Linked DNA regions of Homo sapiens: regions 1 and 3 are each linked to region 2. The links are contacts of gene promoters, found by promoter capture Hi-C in blood cells and fetal thymus (Javierre and others, 2016). All regions are on one chromosome and are shown on one strand. Each heading gives the region's core, a stretch centred on a gene start or on the middle of the fragment in contact. The rest is flanking DNA. Distances are from core to core; before and after follow the strand shown. Region 1 has its middle 7.1 kb from the start of PRPSAP2. Region 2 holds the start of FAM83G (family with sequence similarity 83 member G). Region 3 overlaps PRPSAP2 (phosphoribosyl pyrophosphate synthetase associated protein 2).

Evidence for each region. Contacts are between HindIII fragments. The CHiCAGO score rates a contact against its expected background, and 5 or more counts as called.
Region 1: a fragment that was not itself captured here is called in contact with the fragment with the promoter of FAM83G in region 2 in 6 of 17 cell types (activated CD4 T cells, total CD4 T cells, non-activated CD4 T cells and 3 more); the score reaches 7.6 in activated CD4 T cells.
Region 3: a fragment that was not itself captured here is called in contact with the fragment with the promoter of FAM83G in region 2 in 2 of 17 cell types (naive CD4 T cells and total CD4 T cells); the score reaches 7.1 in naive CD4 T cells.

The regions. Positions count from the first base shown.
Region 1 is chr17:18,849,372-18,852,712 of GRCh38, forward strand. No RefSeq gene overlaps it. Among named protein-coding and RNA genes, the nearest start is that of PRPSAP2, 7.1 kb to the right of the region's middle. RefSeq lists an enhancer at 776-835. The HindIII fragment of the contact is 4,259 bases long and covers 1-3,341 here.
Region 2 is chr17:19,003,162-19,006,613 of GRCh38, forward strand. FAM83G (family with sequence similarity 83 member G) reads right to left here and starts at 1,603. Exons shown (of 6, transcript NM_001039999.3): 1 at 1,548-1,603; 2 at 359-1,008. The coding sequence starts at 880. All of the region lies in intron 9 of SLC5A10 (solute carrier family 5 member 10), which reads left to right. RefSeq lists silencers at 1,475-1,774, 3,295-3,452. The HindIII fragment of the contact is 3,596 bases long and covers 1-3,048 here.
Region 3 is chr17:18,872,971-18,876,362 of GRCh38, forward strand. All of the region lies in intron 5 of PRPSAP2 (phosphoribosyl pyrophosphate synthetase associated protein 2), which reads left to right. Among named protein-coding and RNA genes, the nearest start is that of PRPSAP2, 17 kb to the left of the region's middle. The HindIII fragment of the contact is 1,519 bases long and covers 694-2,212 here.

The sequences.
Region 1 (3,341 bases), core at 277-2,776, 150 kb before region 2:
TGATATGTCACAGAATTACATCTAGGTAAGAAGCAATGTGATGCTGGGCGTGGTGGCTCATGCCTGTAATCCCAGCATTTTGAGAGGCCGAAGTGGGCGGATCATCTGAGGTCGGGAGTTCAAGAGCAGCCTGACCAACATGGAGAAACTCTGTCTCTACTAAAAATATAAAATTAGCTGGGCGTGGTGGCGCATGCCTGTAATCTCCGCTATTCGGGAGGCTGAGGTAGGAGAAATAGCTTGAACCCGGGAGGTAGAGGTTCCGGTGAGCTAAGATTACGCCACTACACTCCAGCCTGGGTGACAGAGCGAGACTCTGTCTCAAAAAACAAAACAAAACAAAAAAAGAAGCGATGTGTTAGGTAAGAGGTAGGTGTGTTCCTTAAAAAAGTGGCATATCAACTAAATCTGGGTGAGTTAGGCCTCTGAGGGTGGCCGTTTGCAGGTCTGTAACATCTAAGGGGGAGAGATTTTTATTTATTTATTTATTTATTTTTTATTTATTTTTTTATTTTTTTTGAGACAAGGTCTGGCTCTGCCGCCCAGGCTGGAGTGCAGTGGTGCAATCTCAGCTCACTGCAAGCTCCACTTCTCAGGCTCAAGCCATCCTCCCGAGCCATCCTCCTGGGCACTACTGGTGATACTTGCTGAGTCACAGCAGCACTCCACCCGCCAGGACTTGTTTTTCATTTCCATAATTGGAAAGTGCAGAATCAGGGGCAGATGAGTAGCTGGAACTACAGGCGTGTGCCACCACGCCTGACTAATTTTTTGTATTTTTTGTAGAGATGGGGTTTCACCACGTTGCCCAGGCTAGTCTTGAACTCGTGAGCTCAAGAGATCTGCCTGACTCAGCCTCCCAAAGTGCTGGGATTACAGGCATGAGCCACCATGCCCAGCCATGTGTGAATATTGAGTCACACCTGTGTGAGAGACAGCTGGATGTGTGTGTGATGTATGAGTGTGTGTGATTTGTGAATGTATGTGTCATCCACATGGGGAACATTTGAGTGTGAGTGATGTCTTCATGTATGTGTGAGATACCTGTGTGTACATATGACATCAGAGTCCTTCACTGGACATTGCAAAGGACGCTGGTGGGGTAGGGCCTCTTTCTTACTGAGTTCACAGAATGAAGTGCCATAGGGGCCTCCAAGTGCTGGTGGCCCTGTTGGCATTACTGGGCAGAGCTTGCCTGAGAATAAAATCACCAAAGAAAGACAAAACCCTGGAGATAGTGGAGCACTGGATCTAGCCATACGAAGCTGTCCCCTGGGCTTTTTAGCTGTGGAAGTCAGCCTCACCCCTCCTCAGTTAGCCCCTTTCCCTTTACATTTAGCTGGTTCAAGCTGAGTTTTATTGCAAAAGTCCTGACTAATACAAATACTTATGATAGAATGTGAATGGGGAAAGCCTTCCATTTACTAAGATTTCAAGCAAATGCAAGATTTGAATGCTTCAGAAGGAGGTACACCAGCCTTACCCCCTGGAGGCCCCAGGAAGCAAAGCCACCAAGGCAGGCCTCAGCACCACCAGGCCCCAGTCCTTAGGCCTCCCTAGGAGGTGCTTCCAGTGAAGGGGGAAGGAAAAACTGCTTGCAGGACAGTGGCATAGGGGCTCTCCAGCTGGGGCAGGGCAGTGTAGGTAGGGGAGGAGATCAGTGGGCCCGAAGTTTGGCTTAGGGTGCTCCTCCCTCCAGCTTAAGGGAGGGATTTAGAGAGGCTGAGCCAGAGATACAAGGTTTGGAGAGTGTTTGTTATGATTCGGGCTAGAGGCCTTGGCGATGCCTGTCTTTGGCAGGGAGAGACCCGATAAAGTTGAGTTGGGGGGTAATTTACCGGGGGATCATCAGTCCCTGATTCTGCACTTTCCAATTATGGAAATGAAAAAAAAGTCCTGGTGGGTGGGGTGCTGCTGTGAGCCAGCACAGTGTCACCAGTAGTGCCCAGGAGAAAGCTGTTGAGAGTAGGGTGTGGGCAAAGGGCTCAAAGCCCAGATCTTGGCTAGGTGCTGCCACCAGGAGGAGGAGGCTGCCACGGGGGCCTGTGTGTGGGCCGTGCCAACCTTGCTGTGGCTTTGGTTTATTGACATTACCATAAATATGTTATTCTACTCCATCCACCTCAATAGTGACATGAAGTAGGTGGCATTAGCCCATTTACAGATGAGGAAACTAACAGAGAGAAATGACTTCTAAGGTTGTACAGCTAAAATGGTAATGCTAATGCTAATATATATATATATTTTTAGACGGAGTCTCGCTCTGTTGCCCAGGCTGGAGTGGCAGGATCTCAGCTTAGCTCACTGCAGCCTCTGCCTCCCTGGTTCCAGTGATTCTCCTGCCTCGGCCTCCTGGGTAGCTGAGATTATAGGCATGCACCACCACGCCCGCCTAATTTTTGTATTTTTAGTAGAAACAGGGTTTCACCATGTTGGCCAGGGTGGTCTTGAACTCCTGACCTCAGGTGATCTGCCTGCCTCAGCCTCCCAAAATGCTAGGATTATAGGCGTAAGCCACTGTGCCGGGTCTACAAAACTCCTTCTGTTTTTTTTTTTTTCTTTTTCAGACCAAGTTTCACTCTTGTTGCCCAGGCTGGAGTGCAATGGCGTGATCTTGGCTCACCACAACCTCCGCCTCCCGGGTTCAAGCAATTCTCCTGCCTCAGCCTCCTGAGTAGCTGGGATTACAGGCATGTGCCACCACGACCGGCTAATTCTGTATTTTTAGTAGAGACGAGGTTTCTCCATGTTGGTCAGGCTGGTCTCGAACTCCTGACCTGAGGTGATCCACCCTCCTCGGCCTCCCAAACTGCTGGGATTACAGGCATGAGCCACCGTGCCCGGCCCAAAACTCCTTATATATCCAGAGAGCATATATATTATAAATATTTAACCTACCTAGTATAGCTTATTGGATACTAAAGCAGGACTTTGTTAAACTCTTAGCATGCAGTGGATCATCTACTATGGTCACTGTATGAGGTGGGTGCTTTGCCATTCCCAGCTGTAGCCCCAACCCTCAGCACTGGGCCTGGCATGAGTTAAGTACTTTATTGATATTTGTTGAGTAAATGAATGGAGGTAAAAGTCAGCTAGCAAGGCAGCCAGGGTAGCTACAGGCAGCCTGATTTGGACAAGTAATTTTATTTTATTTTTAATTTATTTATTTATTTTGAATCTCTGAAAGAGTTTCACTTTTGTCGCCCAGGCTGGAGTGCAATGGTGTGATCTTGGCTCACTGCAACCTCTGCCTCTTGGGTTCAAGCGATTCTCCTGCCTCAGCCTCCTCAGTAGCTGGGATTACAGGTGCCTGCCACAACGCCTGGCTAATTTTCTTGTAT
Region 2 (3,452 bases), core at 353-2,852:
ATCAGAGCCACTCTAAGGGAGAGTGAGAGGAAGCCCTGGGGTTCCTCCCCTCCCCACTCCACCCTATCTCGGTGCCTTCTTCTGGGGAACCAGAAACACCCTCCAACAATAAAGAGGCCCTTTGAGACGGGGCAGCCCACTGTCACCTGCTAGGACCTGGGAACCCTACCCTGCAAAGAAACTGCGGATCCCCACGAAGGTGGGGAGGAAACCTCCACCCAAGAGGCAGCCAGGGAAAACAGCAGAGATCCCTAGAAGCCCATGTTGGGCTCCCGTTTTGGGCTCTGAGTGAGCCTGTATTGAGAGGGGTCCGGTGGCTGGTTGGGCCATGGCTCCAGGAGTCCCCGCGCTGCCTCACCTTCTGTGCCTGGCTGATCATCTTCCGCACCACCTCTTTGATGTGGGCCTGCCCGTCTATGGGGGGCTGCATGTAGACGCTAGCCCGGGTCACGCCGCGGTAGGCGATGGTGTCGGGCCAGCCCAGGTCCAGCTGCGGGATGGAGCGGTCCGACTTCTGGGGCCAGTACTCCAGGGAGGGCAGCGGCTCGGCCTCGATGGGGACCCCATCCGCCCCGCTGGCTTCCTCGCCGTCGCCGACCCCATTGTCCTCGGGCCCCTGAGAGGGGCCCGTGCCCCGAGGGTCCTCAGAGCCCGGGTCGTACACCTCGATGGTCTCCAGGATGCGCTTGAGCTCCAGCTCCGAGAGGAAGTCTCGGATGTTCTCCCGCTTGAGCACCTCGTAGAAGGCGTCCCGGCCGCGGGCCACCAGGGCCTCCAGCGCCAGCCGCTGCTCCTCGCTGTAGAAGAACTCAGGCTTGGACTCGCTGGAGCGCCAGTTCACATGGTTGTCGTCCAGACACTGCACCTGAGAGAAGGCCATGGCGCCGCCTGCCCGGGCACTGCTGCCGGGGGTGGGTGGGCAAGGTCCAGCTCCTAGCTCCGGCCCAGCTGGGGCACCGCGCGCTCGGGGGCCTCTCCGCGGCCTCTGCTTCTCTGCCCATGAGCAATCTGCGGGAAAGACCTGATGAGCCCGGCTCGGCGGGGAGGGCGGGCCGCGCGGGGAGGGGCGGCGGGGGCGGGGCCGGGAACTCAGGTGGGCGTGGGAAGGACGGGGCTGGGGCTGGGGCTGGGAAGATGAGGTGGGGGCACTGGACTGGGATGGGAAGAAAGTAAGGGATCGGAACAGCGGTGAGGGAGCGGTGGGCCACGTCCCAGGGCTCAGCGTGCCTCTACGTGCAGGGAACCCATATCCCAGATTTCCGGAGCTGCCTGAAGTCCTCGCAACTTCTGAGGGAAACTAGGGCAGCCGGGGAACTTCCCAGTAGCTTCTTAGAGTGGGAGGCGGCCCCGGCACAGAGGCGCCCCGCAAACCGAGGGCTTCCGGGTAAGGGAGGGGTCTTAAAATTTCCGGGTGCCGGCAACCCAGGAGGCCTGCCCGGAGGAGGCTGGGGCTCTGGGAGGGGTCCAGGAGACCCAGAAACGCGGTTGCGGGGCGGCGACGCCCCGCGAGACCCGGGATCCGGGGGGCGCGGCCGGGACTTGCTTACCGAGCGGGCGCTGGCGGAGCGGGGCGCACACGCGGCGGCTGCGGCGGCGGCGCGAGGCTGGGCGGGGGCGCGCCGGTGACTCAGGGCCGCCCCGCTTACCCCGCCGCCGCCACCTGCGGTCACGTGCCGCCCGGGGCGGGGCCGGAAGCTGATTCACCCCTCGACAGACAGACAGACCTGGGGCGGACGCACTGCCCACGGTCCCCTGGTGCCCGAATTCCGAAAATATCAGAGGCCTAAGCCCAAGAGCTCCTGGAACACCCATCCCAGAGAGGGACAGTGTTCTCCCTGAGGTCACACAGCGGGTCAACAGCCTTGGCACCCCCCTGTGCCCCCAGGGTCTGTTGGTGATCCTGGATCAACCCTGGCTGTGCCCAGTTTCGCCGGCGTGGCGGGAAGTCCGTGCGGCTGTATAGATACCCAGCTGTCCAGTTGTGGAAACAGGTCTAGGGTACTGGGCTGGGAGCCCCCAGGCAGGGATAGGGCACTGACTGACCCAAACTCAGGGCTTTCCTGAGCAGATACCCAGTTCTCAGTCCTAAGCCCTGATCCCCTCTGGGAGGGGTCCCCGGACTGCTTCTGCGTGGCGGGCAGCACCCGACCTGAACCCTAGGGCAGGGAGGGGCCAAGAGGGCCGCTGTGGGCTGGGGTCAGGCCCAGCTCTCTGCTGAGCGTCCCCTGGGGTTGGGACCCTGGTTATGGGGAGCGTGGAGACCACATCTGAAGGCAGGCTTTGAGGGTGGGACAGCAAAGCCCATTAAATCTGGCCCAACAAACAGCCCCCACCCCATCGCGTGCCGCAGCCAGTCTGCCCGGCACCAGGCCCAGCCCTTCCTCCCATCCCCCATACTTGCTCTGGATCTGGATGGGGCTGGTTTGGGTCCCGTAAGGATGCTGCTTCCGTAGGCTGGTGACATCTCTAGGCCTTGTGCCCTCAAACCCCCCCCCTCCAAGGCCTTCTCCACCATTCATGGCCCATCAGGACTCCTTGCCTCTGAGTCCACTGCCCTGGGCAATGACTAGCCTCCTAGGCCCAGCATCCTTGTGGTCCCCATCACTGACCCCTCAAGCATGAAGTCCTACACTCTGCCATATAGCCCCCCAAGGGCTTTATGCTACTGAACATAGTGGCCCCTGGGGAACAGGCACACATATTTGCATCCTCCTCCTGCCCCAGGGCCAGAGAGGGGAGGTGATCCCAGCGGGGGAGCCCTGCCTTGAGGGTCCTGAAGACCCATTTATAGCCCCTCTGCTACTGTGGATCCCCTGTAAGACCTTCTCTGAGCCGCCTCAGCTTCTCCCTGTGTTCTTACCAATGCACAGAGGCTGGAGAGTTCAGGAAGGGAGTCCAAGGCCTCACTCCCACCTCCACCACCCCAACACTTCTGCAGTTGATGAGCAGGAAGGTTGTATGCACCCAGTTTTCCCCAGTAGCGACGTTTTGCATAACTATAATACAATAATATCACAGCCAGAAAATTGACACTGGTGCAATCCACAAAGCTTATTTAGATTTCACCAGTTTTTTGTTTGTTTTGGGACAGGGTCTTGCTCTGTCACCTAGGCTGGAGTGCAGTGGTATGTACAATCATTGCTCAATGCAGCCTTGAACTCCTGGGCTCAAGCCTCAGCCTCCTGAGTAGCTGGGACCAGAGACACCATGCCCAGCTAATTTTTTTTCTTTTTTCTTTTTTCTTTTTTTTTTTTTTTTGTAGAGACAAGGCCTCACTATGTTGCTCAGACTGGTCTCAAACTCCTGGCCTCAAGTGATTCTCCCACCTTGGCCTCCCGAAGTTCTGGGATTATAGGCGTGAGCCACTGCACTGGCCAGATTTCACCAGTTTTACATGCACTCATTTATGTGTGTTATACAACCTTATTATGTGTATAGATTTGTGTAACCAC
Region 3 (3,392 bases), core at 203-2,702, 130 kb before region 2:
TAGCTGGTACTACAGTTGGCGCCACCACGCCTGGCTAATTTTTGTATTTTTAGTAGAGACGGGGTTTCACCATGTTGGCCAGACTGGTCTTGAACTCCTGACCTCACGCAATCTGCCCGCCTCGGCCTACCAAAGTGGTGGGATTACAGGTATGAGCCACCGTGTCCAGCCACTCAGTGTTCTTAACGGGTGGAAATAACCAAGTATTGGAGTAGAGGCTCTTTTTTTTTTTTTTTTTTTGAGACAGAATTTCACTCTTGTTGCCCAGGCTGGAGTGCAATGACGCGATCTCGGCTTACCGCAACCTCAGCTTACCGCAACCTCTGCTTCCCAGGTTCAAGCAATTCTGCCTCAGCCTCCTGAGCAGCTGGGATTATAGGCATGTGTCACCACGCCCGGTTAATTTTGTGTTTCTAGTAGAGACAGGGTTTCTCCATGTTGGTCAGGCTGGTCTTGAACTCCCGACCTCAGGTGATCCACCTGCCTCAGCCTCCCAAAGTGCTGGGATTACAGGCGTGAGCCACTGCGCCCAGCCTGGAGTAGAGGCTGTTAATGATAATAGTATACATTAAGTTTCCTAACAATTAACAGCCAGAATTTTGTAAAACTTGCAAGGAAGCATTTCTAGTTCCCTCCTCTCCCCAAAAGAAACAGAGGCTAGGGGAGGAGACCTTTCTTAGTTGGGGTTCTTTAAGCTTTTATTGCATATAAAAGTGATCATTATTTACTGTTTTATTACATAAATTAGCTGAGAGGATAAAAAACTGTACTGAAGGAATGTGTATTCCTGTCTGGTGTGACCTTTGACACACCTGTGTTCTGGAAATTGTTTGGTCACATATGTTTAAGCTAGGTATAGAAGATTCAATGCAGCAAGGCTGTCTCTGGCACTCTGGAAGGGAGGGTGATCACCTGGAGCCCTACTTTTTTTTTTTCTTTTTCTTTTTTCTAAGAGGTAGAGTCTTGCTCTGTTGTCCAGTCTGGAGTGCAGTGGTGAGATCATAACTCACTACAACTTCAAACTCCTGGGCTCAAACTATCCTCCTCCCTCAGCCTCCCAAGTAGCTGGGACTACAGGCATGCACCAGCATGCTCACCTCGTTTTTTCATTTTTTGTAGAGATGGAGGTCTCACTGTATTGCCCAGCTGGTCTCAAACTTTTGGCCTCAAGTGATCCTCCTGCCTTGACCTCCTATATTGCTGAGATTCCAGCAATATAGAAGGTGAGCCTATCACACCTGGCCTTAAAGCCCCACTTTCCATTGTGTGTTTGTCCACAAATGTCCCTAAATGCTTCTGTGTATGAAGTTCTTCGCTCAGAACAATTTTTAATGTCTAGAAATCAGTTTGTCTAGTGCATTATTTTTTAGCTTAGAGAGTCTGAAAGTTGCTGCATGCTTAATTTGTGTATATACATATATAAAACCAACGAAAGGGAAAAAGAAGGCCATTTCGGGAGACTTTAGTCTTGGAACACACATTTTTTTCACCTAAATTTTGAACATTTTCTCTCCTGGTCTTTGGTTTATTGGGATGAAGTCACAAAACCCCCATCTCTCCTGGGAAGAGGAGTGGCAGGGGAGACCTGTCCTTGCATCCTATAGCCCTGGCAAACGGGTGTGCTCTGAAGGAGGAAGGGTGTGGAGGGCCTTTGCCACGGTGCCCTAGCTTCACCTTCTGCTGTGACACCCAGGATTCTCAGCAGAGCTGGAGGTGGGGGCACGGAGCGCCAACTGCCCCTGCTGCTGCTGTCCTCTTTCCCCTTTCCCACGTCTGCCACCAAACCAGGGTGGAAGTGGAGGACTCACCTGTGCCCACATCTTAACCCTTTACCTCCAGCATCGGGGTAGGGAAGGGGCGGGCACAGAACAACTTAAACGGCTTCTGGCTCCTTGGTTTCTGTGTCTGTGGTACTTTTATGTCCTTACAGACAAGTGTGATTCCATTGGATAAATGCACAGAGGTTGTGTGGATTACCCAAGGGGATGGGTAGGCATTGAGGGCACCCCTGGACTTAGAATTTAGGACTTCAGAAGGGTGACTGCTGATCCTTCTCATTTTCAAGTCCTTCTGGTTGTTTATTTTTGTACATTTCAATACTTATCCTGTGCCCCTGTCTTTTGTCAGTTTCATATTCCTCTAATCAGAATCACTCAGCACCCCTTTCATTTTCTCTCCGTGTCTCATTTTGCATTGTTCCATACCTGACATAAGCTTGTGTTAACTCGGGTTCTCAGTCTTGTCCATGTTGCAGAGTCTGGACGTCATGGTCTTCTTTGTGAAATACCATGAAATAACATTTAGTGTTGAGGGCCAGATGTGGTGGCTCATGCCTGTAATCCTAGCACTTTGGGAGGTCGAGGTGGGCATATCAGTTGAGGCCAGGAGTTTGAGACCAGCCAGGCCAACACGGTGAAACCCTGTCTTTACTAAAAATACAAAAAATTAGCTGGGCATGGTCATGAGCGCCTGTAGTCCCAGCTACTCAGGTGGCTGAGGCACGAGAATTGCTTGAACGCAGGAGGCAGAGGTTGTAGTGAGCTGAGATCACGCCACTGGATTCCAGCCTGGGTAAAAGAACAAGGCTCCATCTCGAAGTAAAAAAAAAAAAGGCTGGGCGAGGTGGCTTACACCTATAATCCCAGAGCTTTGGGAGGCCGAGGCGGGCAGATCAGGAGTTCAAGACCAGCCTGGCCAACATGGTGAAACCCTGTCTCTACTGAAAATACAAAAATTAGCTGGGCGTGGTGATATGCGCTTCTAATTCCAGCTACTTGGGAGGCTGAGGCATGAGAATCGCTTGAACCCAGGAGACAGAGGGTGCAGTGAGCCAAGATGGCGCCACTATACTCCAGGCTGGGTGATAGAGTGAGACTCTGTCTCAAAAAAAAAAAAAAAAAGCCTGTAATCCCACCACTTTGGGAGGCCCCAGGCGTGCAGATCACCTGAGGTCGGGAGTTCAAGACCAGCCTGACCAACATGGAGAAACGCTCTCTCTGCTAAAAATGCAAAATTAGCCGGGCATGGTGGCGCATGCCTGTGATCTCAGCTACTCGGGAGGCTGAGACAGGAGAATTGCTTGATCCTGGGAGGCGGAGGTTGCGGTGAGCCGAGATCATGCCATTGCACTCCAGCCTGGGCAACAAGAGCAGAACTCCGTCTCAAAAACAAACAAACAAAAAAATGATTTAGTGTTGTCAGATACATCTTATACTTCATTTTACTACAGATTAGTGCTAGCACTAAAAATAAAAGAGAAATTTAAAATTAAGAAAATTCCATCCATTAACTGAAGTTTTCCTGTATTTCAAACAAGACTGTCCTTATCTGAGTTCAGTAATGGAAAGCCTTGTTCCTCCACTCTTATCCTTCCCATAGAATACTTTTCTGAA